Regions from separate parts of the Homo sapiens genome. Here region 2 is linked to region 1. Evidence: promoter capture Hi-C in human tissues and cell types (Jung and others, 2019). All regions are on one chromosome and are shown on one strand. The core of a region is centred on a gene start or on the middle of the fragment in contact, and the rest is flanking DNA. Distances in the headings are between cores, read along the strand shown. Region 1 holds the start of PDGFB (platelet derived growth factor subunit B). Region 2 has its middle 11 kb from the start of TNRC6B-DT.

Region 1 (5,524 bases), core at 3,025-5,524:
CTCCATCAAGTATGGAGAAGCAGAGCTGCCTGGCCCAGGTGTTGCTGGCCCCTCTCAGTGGCGGGGAGGCTCCCAGTGATCATCGCTCTCACCTTTCTGGACTTGAGGGCGTGAGTTTGCCCCCGGGATGGAACCCAACTCCTTCCTTGGTATTTCTTCACCCCAGCCAGTGTCCTGGACCCCCACGCCCAGGGTGTAAGATGCTCTTCATGGATGAGGGCTTGGATAGCTCTGAGCACACAGTCTAAAAAGCCCCCAACCTTGGGCAGCACCCCCATCCCCCACGGCTGTGGCCACTCTTTTTCCCTTTGGCTCAGATCTGTCCTGGAGTGGAGGGTGGAGAGTTACGGGGGTGTGGGCGCCCCCATCCCTAGCTCTGCTGGAGAACCTTATTTCCCAGTGGCCTGAACGCGAAGATGGGCGGGGGCCTTCCCAGTTCTCTCATTCAAGTGCTCCTCAGACCCAGCCCTGATGAAGTTCCGAGGTCAGATGAGACCACGTGCATTCAGGGTGGTGTGGCTTCAGACCCTTCCCAGTTCTGATACCTCCAGAAGGGGTGCCCTTCAGGGGCCCTGTGCTTCCAAGCTTAGAGGCTCATGCTACAAGCCCCTCCCCAACTCTTTCCACCCTTTAGGAAGGGCCTGGCATCTCTGCAATAACTGGTCAGGACTCAGAAAGAGAAATTGGCAGGATTTTAATCATTTATTCATTCCTTCAGCGAGCGGCACTTCCTGAGCAGCCACTGTATGCTAGGAGCTGGCAGGAGGCCCTTGAACACTCTGGACTCAGTCTAGTGCTAGATTGATGATCAGGCCATGACGATGCCAGGTGTGCATGCTGTGGAGCCTGGAACAAGTGCCAAGCCTGGTGGGCCTTCTGGAGGAGGTGCCTGCTACACCCAGCCTGGCAGGAGGCAGACGATCAGGTGTTATTAAAAAAAAATTTTTAGGCTGGGTGTGGTGGTTCATGCCTGTAATCCCAGCACTTCGGGAGGCTGAGTGGGGCAGATCACTTGAGGTCAGGAGATCGAGAGCACCCTGGTCAACATGGTGAAACCGTCTCTACTAAAAATACAAAAATTAGCTGGGCATGGTGGCAGGCGCCTGTGGTCTCAGCTACTCGGGAGGCTGAGGCAGGAGAATCGCTTGAACCTGGGAGGCAGAGGTTGCAGTGAGAAGAGATCGCACCACGGCACTCCAGCCTCGGCGACAGACCGAGACCCCGTCTCTGAGATGGCTCACTGCAGTCTTGAACTCCTGGGCTCAGGGGATTCTCCCTCCTGACTCAGCCTCCTGAGTAGCTGGGGCCACACTCAGATATATATATATATATATATATATATATATATATATATATATATATATATTTTTTTTTTTTTTTTTTTTTTTTTTTGGTAATTTTTTTTAAGAGATGGGATCTCGCTATGTTGCTGAGGCTGGTCTCGAACTCCTGGCTGCACATGATCCTCTGGCCTCAGCCTCCCAAATTGCTGGGAATACAGGGGTGAGCCACCGTGCCTGGGGAGGTGTTCTTTACAGACTGTTCCTCTGCACAGAGAAGGTACAAGAAAGGAGCCCTTAGCACAACATTCAGGCCCAGGTGTCACGCAGGTGTCACGTAGCATTCAGGCCCAGGTGTCTGCTGGGCCCTCTTCTGCCACTTCTAACCCATGTACTGGCACCTGCACTGCAATGATTTGGGTCTATCTCACTGAGAGCATGGGAAGTCCCTGAGTGCCGAGGCTGGGACTCCTTCCTCATTCCATTTCTCAGCGCTTCACACAGGGTCTGCAAACAGTAGGCGTTCTACGATGCTGCTCTGAGTAGCCTTCCCTCTCCCTCAACTTGTACCTAAGTCAGAGTTCATATGGGTCCATCACTTTTTAGCTGGCAGAGCAGGTTCCCACATATTAATGCATGTGGCGCTCACCAAAGCGCTGTGTCAAAAGTGTCATCATTGTCATCAGCATCACCTGCCAGAAAATTGCACAGCACGGTGGTCTCAGCATGTGGGCTCTGTAGCTGGACTGCTCAGATTCAAGTCCTGGCCTTACCACTTACGGGCTGTGTGACCTTGAACAAGTGTATTGGCCTCTCTGTGCTTCCATTTCCCCATCTGTAAGATAGGAATAACACATCTCACAGGAGCATGGAGAGGCTACAGGTAGAGTAAGAAAAACACTAGCTACCACATAGTCAGCTCACTAATCATGGTAGTTGTTACCATTCTATTTATAGAAGACACAGAAGGTCAAGGTCAAATGACCCAGCTGTCCGGTGGAAGAGGGTTTTTATCTCTGAGTCGTTAGACTTCAAATCTAGTGTTTGGGGGTTATCTCCTCGTCCCGCTGCCCCATCTCCCTTGTCACCCTGTCTCCTAATTTATCTGTTTATACATCTGGTTGTCCTTCTCAATGGGGCTCTTCAAAGGCAGGGGCCTGCATTAGGCTGGTTCACACCTGTCTCCCCAGTGCCTGGAGCAGTGCGGGGCCACCAGTGAACTTGAAGGCTGCATGGAAGGTTCCAGGCGCTTGCTTCCTGCTAAGGTGTTTTGCTGAGCGCCTCCACATGGAGGACCTCATGGGAGCCTCCAGACCACTCCAGGAGCAGGGTAAAAATTCTCTACAACTGCACTGAGGTACAACAAACTGCACACATTTTGTTGTGATGTACGTATACACCCATAAGCCCATCACCACAATCAAAAATGACAAACATTTCCATCACCACTAAAATTTTGCCATGCCTCTCTGTTCTCTCTCACTCCTTCCCATTATAGATTTATTTTTATTTCTTTAGAGATAGGGTCTTGCTCTGTTGCCCAGGCTGGAGTGCAGTGGCACAGTCACAACTCACTGCAGCCTCAAACTCCTGGGCTCAAAACGATCCACAGTCTCCTGAGTAGCTGGGACTACAGGAGCTTGTTACCACACCCAGCTCCAGTTTATAAATTCATCTCCAGTTTATAAAGGAGGAAACCGAGGTACTGAGAGGTTAAAAAACCTTCCTGCAGACACTTGTCCAGCAAGTGGCCACTCCAGGATTTGGACCAAGGTGATGTGTCTTCAGGCTGTGTCTCTGCCACTGTGCCACGCTGCTGGGTGGTAGGCAGCAGTGGGTGGGTGCCTGCAGTGGTCTGTAAAGACCACCTGAGATGTCCTTCCTCCTCTGTTCCACCCTGTCCAGGTCCAAGAAGACAGTCTATGAAGAGAGAGCAGGTGTGACTCTCTCAGTGTGCTCCTCTGTGAGAAGCAGGCTGACATCCCAAAGGGAAGGGCGGATAACAGAGACAGTGCAAGCGGAGGAGATGAGGGTGCCTCAAAGCCGGGAGGCTGGGTGATGCAGGAGCCTGCGTGTCCCGAGGGGGGTGCTGGGCCCAGTGTGAGTACGTGTGACTGTGACTGAGACAGTGTGACTGCTGAAGGCAGGGACACAGCAGCTCCCTGACTGGGGGCAGAAGGCGTTAACTGTGTGAAGGCTGGTTGTGGGTGGGTGGGCTCTGGGCCTCGAACCCGGGGGCTGAGGGAGATAGTAAACAGCAGGGTGACTGACGGGAAGATCATGTTGGTAGCCCTGCGAAGATGCTGCAGGGCTGTGGGGGTTTGTGTGACTTTGCAGTTCAACAAATTCAAATTCAGCCAACGCTGGCAGGGCCTGTTGTGCCAGGCAACCAGCTAGGAGGAGGAGACTCGGACCCAGCTTGCAGCTGAAGGGCGCTGGCTGCCGGGTTCTGTGGGTTCACCTTGCGGTGTCTTCCCTTGCTAACACTGAGTCCTTACAATAGCCCCATCTCCAGGTTGAGGCTAGATGGAGGGGACAGAGGGAAGTGACTTGCCCAAGGTGACCCAAGCTCCCGAGTGCCAGGGCAGGATCTGAATTCAGGCTCTCAGACTGCAGAGCCTGAGTCCCTCCCTGCCATGCCTGTGCCAGGGTGGAAATGTCTGGTCCTGGAGGGGAGCGTGGACTCCTGGCCTTGGCTCTGGAGACATCCCCCTAGACCACGTGGGCTCCTAACCTGTCCATGGTCACTGTGCTGAGGGGCGGGACGGTGGGTCACCCCTAGTTCTTTTTTCCCCAGGGCCAGATTCATGGACTGAAGGGTTGCTCGGCTCTCAGAGACCCCCTAAGCGCCCCGCCCTGGCCCCAAGCCCTCCCCCAGCTCCCGCGTCCCCCCCCTCCTGGCGCTGACTCCGGGCCAGAAGAGGAAAGGCTGTCTCCACCCACCTCTCGCACTCTCCCTTCTCCTTTATAAAGGCCGGAACAGCTGAAAGGGTGGCAACTTCTCCTCCTGCAGCCGGGAGCGGCCTGCCTGCCTCCCTGCGCACCCGCAGCCTCCCCCGCTGCCTCCCTAGGGCTCCCCTCCGGCCGCCAGCGCCCATTTTTCATTCCCTAGATAGAGATACTTTGCGCGCACACACATACATACGCGCGCAAAAAGGAAAAAAAAAAAAAAAAGCCCACCCTCCAGCCTCGCTGCAAAGAGAAAACCGGAGCAGCCGCAGCTCGCAGCTCGCAGCTCGCAGCCCGCAGCCCGCAGAGGACGCCCAGAGCGGCGAGCGGGCGGGCAGACGGACCGACGGACTCGCGCCGCGTCCACCTGTCGGCCGGGCCCAGCCGAGCGCGCAGCGGGCACGCCGCGCGCGCGGAGCAGCCGTGCCCGCCGCCCGGGCCCCGCGCCAGGGCGCACACGCTCCCGCCCCCCTACCCGGCCCGGGCGGGAGTTTGCACCTCTCCCTGCCCGGGTGCTCGAGCTGCCGTTGCAAAGCCAACTTTGGAAAAAGTTTTTTGGGGGAGACTTGGGCCTTGAGGTGCCCAGCTCCGCGCTTTCCGATTTTGGGGGCCTTTCCAGAAAATGTTGCAAAAAAGCTAAGCCGGCGGGCAGAGGAAAACGCCTGTAGCCGGCGAGTGAAGACGAACCATCGACTGCCGTGTTCCTTTTCCTCTTGGAGGTTGGAGTCCCCTGGGCGCCCCCACACGGCTAGACGCCTCGGCTGGTTCGCGACGCAGCCCCCCGGCCGTGGATGCTCACTCGGGCTCGGGATCCGCCCAGGTAGCGGCCTCGGACCCAGGTCCTGCGCCCAGGTCCTCCCCTGCCCCCCAGCGACGGAGCCGGGGCCGGGGGCGGCGGCGCCCGGGGGCCATGCGGGTGAGCCGCGGCTGCAGAGGCCTGAGCGCCTGATCGCCGCGGACCCGAGCCGAGCCCACCCCCCTCCCCAGCCCCCCACCCTGGCCGCGGGGGCGGCGCGCTCGATCTACGCGTCCGGGGCCCCGCGGGGCCGGGCCCGGAGTCGGCATGAATCGCTGCTGGGCGCTCTTCCTGTCTCTCTGCTGCTACCTGCGTCTGGTCAGCGCCGAGGTGAGTTGCCACGGCGGCTGGGGCTGGTTCTTCATTCATTACCTTCGCCCCCCCCTTCTGACCGCCCCCTCCTCTCCCTGCAGTGAACTTTGGACCCTTGCAGCCCGCGAGCCTGACGCCGGGCGCTGGGTGACCTCTTCGGGCTGGGAGCGAGGTCCGGGGGTGACAG
Region 2 (5,524 bases), core at 1,252-3,751, 810 kb before region 1:
AGGCTGGCGCCACAATGTGCTAAAGCACATTGTGTCACATTGTGCTAAAGCACATTGTGCTAAAGCACATTGAGTCACAAGTTTTGGAGGACAGGTAGAGGGCCCCCTTTTTAAAGTTTTCAAACCATCCCTTACTGGCTTGAAATGTGATGTCTTTTACATCTTCATTCATTCTTCTTCTCTTTGTGATTTCTACCAAGAGCCTTTTTTACCGTTTATGTTTTGTTTTTGTTTTTTGGTGTTGTAAAAGTAGTATTTTCCCCTCTGAGCCTTTTGGCTACATACTGGGGTATGGGGCATAAAAAGATCTCCTCTTTCTGGAGCAGTCCACAGACCCACCTGCATGGTTTAAGCTGGAATCAGTAAGTATTGTGGCCTTTTGTTTAAGGCAATTGAGCCAAAATGCAAGATAAAACACTGTAAATTTTAAACATATTGGTGTAAAAATATAAAACTTGTATAGTAAAAAGAAGGTTGACAAAATTGACTAAAGAGTAGATGGTGAAATATTAACTTAAAATCTGTTGTCCATGGTACATCTAACAGGAAAGTCTTTATTTAGAAGGTCTACAGAGATAACATCTGAGTAAAACCTCTCCTCAGGAAAAGGATATTACTGAGCATGAGACACCATCAGCAGGATTTTCACAGGAGAAAGACATTTAGCTCCTCAGAGAGCAGCTGTTTCATCTTTTACTTTGGATTGCCTTCCTCCACATCAGAATCTTGTACCCAGCAAGTACCCAAGACATTTCTCTTGATATGCTGACCAGGGGGTCTCCAGGTTAGAAAGCCTGGTCCACTTCCAGTTTTTGAGGCTCGAGATATGTATATATATTTTTTTAAATAAAGACATGCCAAAACACCATTATGAAAATTCTGGGCCAGGCAGGGTGGCTCACGCCTGTAATCCCAGCACTTTGGGAGGCTGCGGATCACCTGAGGTCAGGAGTTTGAGACCAGCCTGACCAACATGGAGAAATCCTGTCTCTACTAAAAATACAAAATTAGCCGGGCGTGGTGGCACACGCCTGTGATCCCAGCTACTCGGGAGGCTGAGGCAGGAGAATCACTTGAACCCAGGAGGCGGAGGTTGCGACGAGCCGAGATGGTGCCATTGTACTCCAGCCTGGGCAACAAGAGCGAAACTCTGTCTCAAAAAAAAAAAAAAAAAACCTGGCATATTTTCAATGTACACATTTAATAAATCAACACCTTTAGGAAAAAAATTCAATGTAACTGTACTATTCACAAGAGGATTAATAAACATGTTCCCTTGTCATAAACCACAGATAGTGTTACCTGGTAAGAAGTTTAAAGGTATAATCAGTATCATCTTTCAATCCTGTGACTTTATCTCGACTGTTTACACCTACTATGTGCAAACCATTCTAGTGGGTGCCATGACAAAACAAAGTAGCATAAACTCATTTTGAGCTCAAGGTATCCAAGATGAGAACCCATGACGACTTCTTACTCTGTTGAGATACTACAAGGAACTTCCAATGAATATAGTCTACCTGTGCCCATGGGAGGAATCTGGTGGCCTTGCCCCATCAAATCTGCTACCATCTCTATTCAAGCAACTTCCATTTTTCTTTCTCCGCTGGGTGCTTCCTGTATATCTTTTAATAGATTATAGATTTTTCTTTCTTTTTTTTTTTTTTTTTGAGACAGGGTGTCACTCTGTCTCTCAGGCTGGAGTGTAGTGATGCAATCCTAGCTCACCGCAGCCTCCAACTCCTGGGCTCATGCAATCCTCCTGCCTCAGCCTTTTGAGTAGCTAGGACTACAGGCATGTGCCATCATGCTCAGTTGATGTTTAAAACATTTTTTGTAGAGATGGGGGTCTCACTATGTTGCTCAAGCTGGTCTCGAACTCCTGGCCTCAAGTGATCCTCTTACTCTGGCTTCCCAAAGTGCTGGGATTACAGGCATGAGCCACTGCACCCAGCCTGATTTTCTATCTTACTTAAAGGTGTTGCCTTCTCAACCTCGTCCTGCTTCCATTTTTCTCTGTCCTTTCTCTTCCAAACATCTTAAACTAAACTGCATTCATTACTACCATTCTCCCTATCATCACTTAGCTCCTTAGCCCTTTGTTATGTAGATCAAATACATACACAGAACTTGCAGAAATCGGCATTACCGTAAGTCAATTAACATCTTGTGAGTGTAATCAGCACTACCAGAGCATAATCACTTCTTCCCATTTGAAAAATATCAAGCTCTGAATATGCAAAGCTGAGAAACATTAGTTTAGCCAACAAGGTATGGACATCCTGCAACTGAAAGCAACTTAGCGGAAATAGAATGGAAGATGGCTAGAGATGGGGTGGATGGGGAAAGGAGACACTACTTAAGAGTAACAGGGAGAGAAAAATGGATAGGAGGAGACAGAAAAGGAAAGAGACATTGAAAACAAATAGGAGTAAATGAAGGAAAATGGGCTACATTTTTATCCAATTAATCTCCCTTTTTCAAATCTGGTTGAGAATTAAATTAGATTAATGTTAGCTCAGTGAACCACTTGGAGACTTGGAGATATGTAAAGACCTTCAAGCTGTAGGAACTGTCTTTCCCAGAACATATACCAGAGGCCCTTCTGGGTAGTCCTCTTTTCTGATTTCCTCTCTTTCACTGGTTCAGTGTCTGATCCATTTGAGATGGTATCAGCACTCACCTCAGGTGATCTAGAAGTCACTTCCTTTACACTCTCTGCTCCTACAGATAAGCTTAAATGAGTCACCACTTTCTAATTCCACCTAACATCATTTGCATGGTTATAGGTACACCACTGAAGCAAGTATATTAACTAGAAGTGACAAGTGCCGTTGTGGTTTATGATTATCTTCTCTGAATGGTACTCTATGCCTTTATGAATTCAAACATACAGATTCAGATCATTATTCTAAGGTCATTTCCTGTCCTAAACTGCAGTGGAGTAAGAGGCTGAGTCTGACATATCATGGTTCAACTGTAAGTCAGCTATTAGCCCTGTACCCTAATGCCAGCCTTGTAAAGCATACCGCTGTGCCGGTCATCTTCTCCACATACTAAAAACGCTCCCCCATGCCTCTACACAGGCTGTTCTCTCTGCCGGAAATGCCCTTTTCCTCCACAACTTAGTGTGAGTGTCACCTTCCCTGGGAAGGCTTTCTCAACCTCCCCATCGTGTTGATGACCTTCCTTTTCATCCCCGCAGCACCTCTTGTACTGTCTATTACAGCACTTATTACACTAAATGGCACTCATCTGTGTCCACATCTGTCTCACCCACCTGGCTGTGCATTCCTTGGGAACAAAGATCTCCTTTCGCCCCACCTCTGTAGTCCTGGCTCCTAGCACAGCATTCAGCATGTCTATGCATTCAAATGTTTAGTGAGAGCGTCATCATGTCAAGCCCAAGCATAATTTCTTTTCTTTTTTTGGAGACGGAGTCTTGTTCTGTCACCCAGGCTGGAGCTTAATGGTGCAATCTCAGCTCACTGCAACCTCTGCCTCCCGGGCTCAAGCAACCTTCCTGTATCAGCCTCCCGAGTAGCTGGGACTACTGGCGCGCACTACTACAACCAGCTAATTTTTTTTTTTTTTGTAGAGATGGGTTTCACCATGTCACCCAGGCTGGTCTCGAACTCCTGGACTCAAGTGACCTGCCTGCCTTGGCCTCCCAAAGTGCTGGCATTACATGCATGAGCCACCAAGCTTTGCCTAAAATGAGGTTTTTTAGAAATTCTATTTTAAATTCTCTTTCTTAACTTCATTTGAAAAAATATTTATTGAGGACCTACTATGTGCAACTCACAGTGCTAGATGTTGGTGACACAAATGTGAATAAAACAGAGTATTTTTATTCATGTAGCTATTTTCCAGAAGGGGAAATATAATATACAAATTAAATAATTATACAATTGATATCTTCTAATGTGGGGCGGGGTGATTAGGAAGTCATTAAAGAGGAGACACACACACTGAGCTCAGGATTGAAGAGGCATTAACTAAGGTTGGGCCTGCGGGCTTCCAGCTGTGAGAATAGTATGCTCAAGGAAGGGACCTTGGGTAGTGAAGAACACACATTTCCGGAACTTGAAGAGGGTCAGTATGGTGAGAGTACACTCAGCAAGGGGGAAGACAGTAGGAAAAGAGGCAGGGGACGCTGGCAGAAGCTTCACTGGGCAGTCAGTGAAAAAGGCAAGAACAAGAATTCAGGTTCTTATCAGGGTCTTTAGGCCTCACTGACAGTTTTGTTTTTGAGACAGGGTCTCACTCTGTCACCCACACTGGAGTGTGGTGGCGCAATCTCGGCTGACTGCAACCTCTGCCTCCAGGCTCAAGCTAGCCTCCCACCTCAGCCTCCTGAGTAGCTGGGACTACAGGCAGGCACCACCACGCCCAGCTAATTTTTGTATTTTTTGCAGAGACAGGGTTTTGCTATGTTGCCCAGGCTGGTCTTGACCTCCTGAGCTCAAGATATTCACCCACCTCAGCTTCCCAAAGTGCTGGGATTACAGGCACGAGCCTGTGCACCCAGTTATTAACAGTTTTAAGTAGGGGAGAAATATGATCAGATTTACACTTGCTTTTTAAGTAAATGTTTTAAATTAAGATATACACAGAACACATCTGTAGTTTTAAAAGATTATTCTCACTACAGTTTCAACAATTCTCTGAAGTAGAGAAGTTCCTACTTGCAAAAGAAAAAACTAAGACTCTGCAAAGCTAAGTAACTTACTTCAAGTTATTTATTTAACAAACATTTGAGTGTCTACGATATGACAGACACAGTACAGTATGTGCCTAGGGATGCAAAGATGACTACAATAGTCTCACTTAAGAAATTTGCAATCCAGCAGGAGAGACAGATTAAGAAACATGATATAATGTAGTCTATGTCAGAAATGAGTAAAGTCTAAGAGAACAGAGAGAAATTCAATCTTCCTAGGAAGAATTAACCATTTCACCTGTGTGTTAAAGGGGTATTTTTTTTTCCATACTGTAGTTTTTGAATTTTCAGTCATTCCTGCGCTTGGCACCCAGTATGCACTCAAGCAAATGTCAGCAATACAAATGAATCCAGGACTTTTGACTCCTAATTCAGAGACTCTCCAACTCTGCCCGAATTCTGGAAGACTTGCATTAATTACAATAATTATGGAACTATTTTGGAGCTCTACTTTTGAAGCTGCTTTCGGAGCCTGTTTATAAACCACAAAGAAAGTCAGTCTTATTAAAACTGTCAAACTTCATTAATGACCCAACCTGAAAATCCATAACAATATCTAAACATAGTTTTTTTTTTTTTTTTTTAAAGAAAATCTCCAAACACATCGAGTGGTATATGTTAAATACCTAAAGCTTTTAGTATGTCAGTCATACCTCAATAAGGTGGTTTGGGGGAAAAAGAAAGCACAAATCGACATTCAGAGGATGGTGAAATGCTCCCATGAAGACAACCAAGCAAATATACCATATACACCTTCGTAATTCATGATCTCTGTACTCAAAGGACTTACATTTCAGTTTC

The links. Contacts are between HindIII fragments. The study calls those that stand out against the background at their distance.
Region 2: a fragment that was not itself captured here is called in contact with the fragment with the promoter of PDGFB in region 1 in 1 of the 25 tissues and cell types used here (lymphoblastoid cells).

The regions. Positions count from the first base shown.
Region 1 is chr22:39,243,732-39,249,255 of GRCh38, reverse strand. PDGFB (platelet derived growth factor subunit B) reads left to right here and starts at 4,274. Exons shown (of 7, transcript NM_002608.4): 1 at 4,274-5,355. The coding sequence starts at 5,293. The HindIII fragment of the contact is 11,810 bases long and covers 1-5,524 here.
Region 2 is chr22:40,052,944-40,058,467 of GRCh38, reverse strand. It overlaps a transcript of TNRC6B not described here. Among named protein-coding and RNA genes, the nearest start is that of TNRC6B-DT, 11 kb to the right of the region's middle. The HindIII fragment of the contact is 4,520 bases long and covers 242-4,761 here.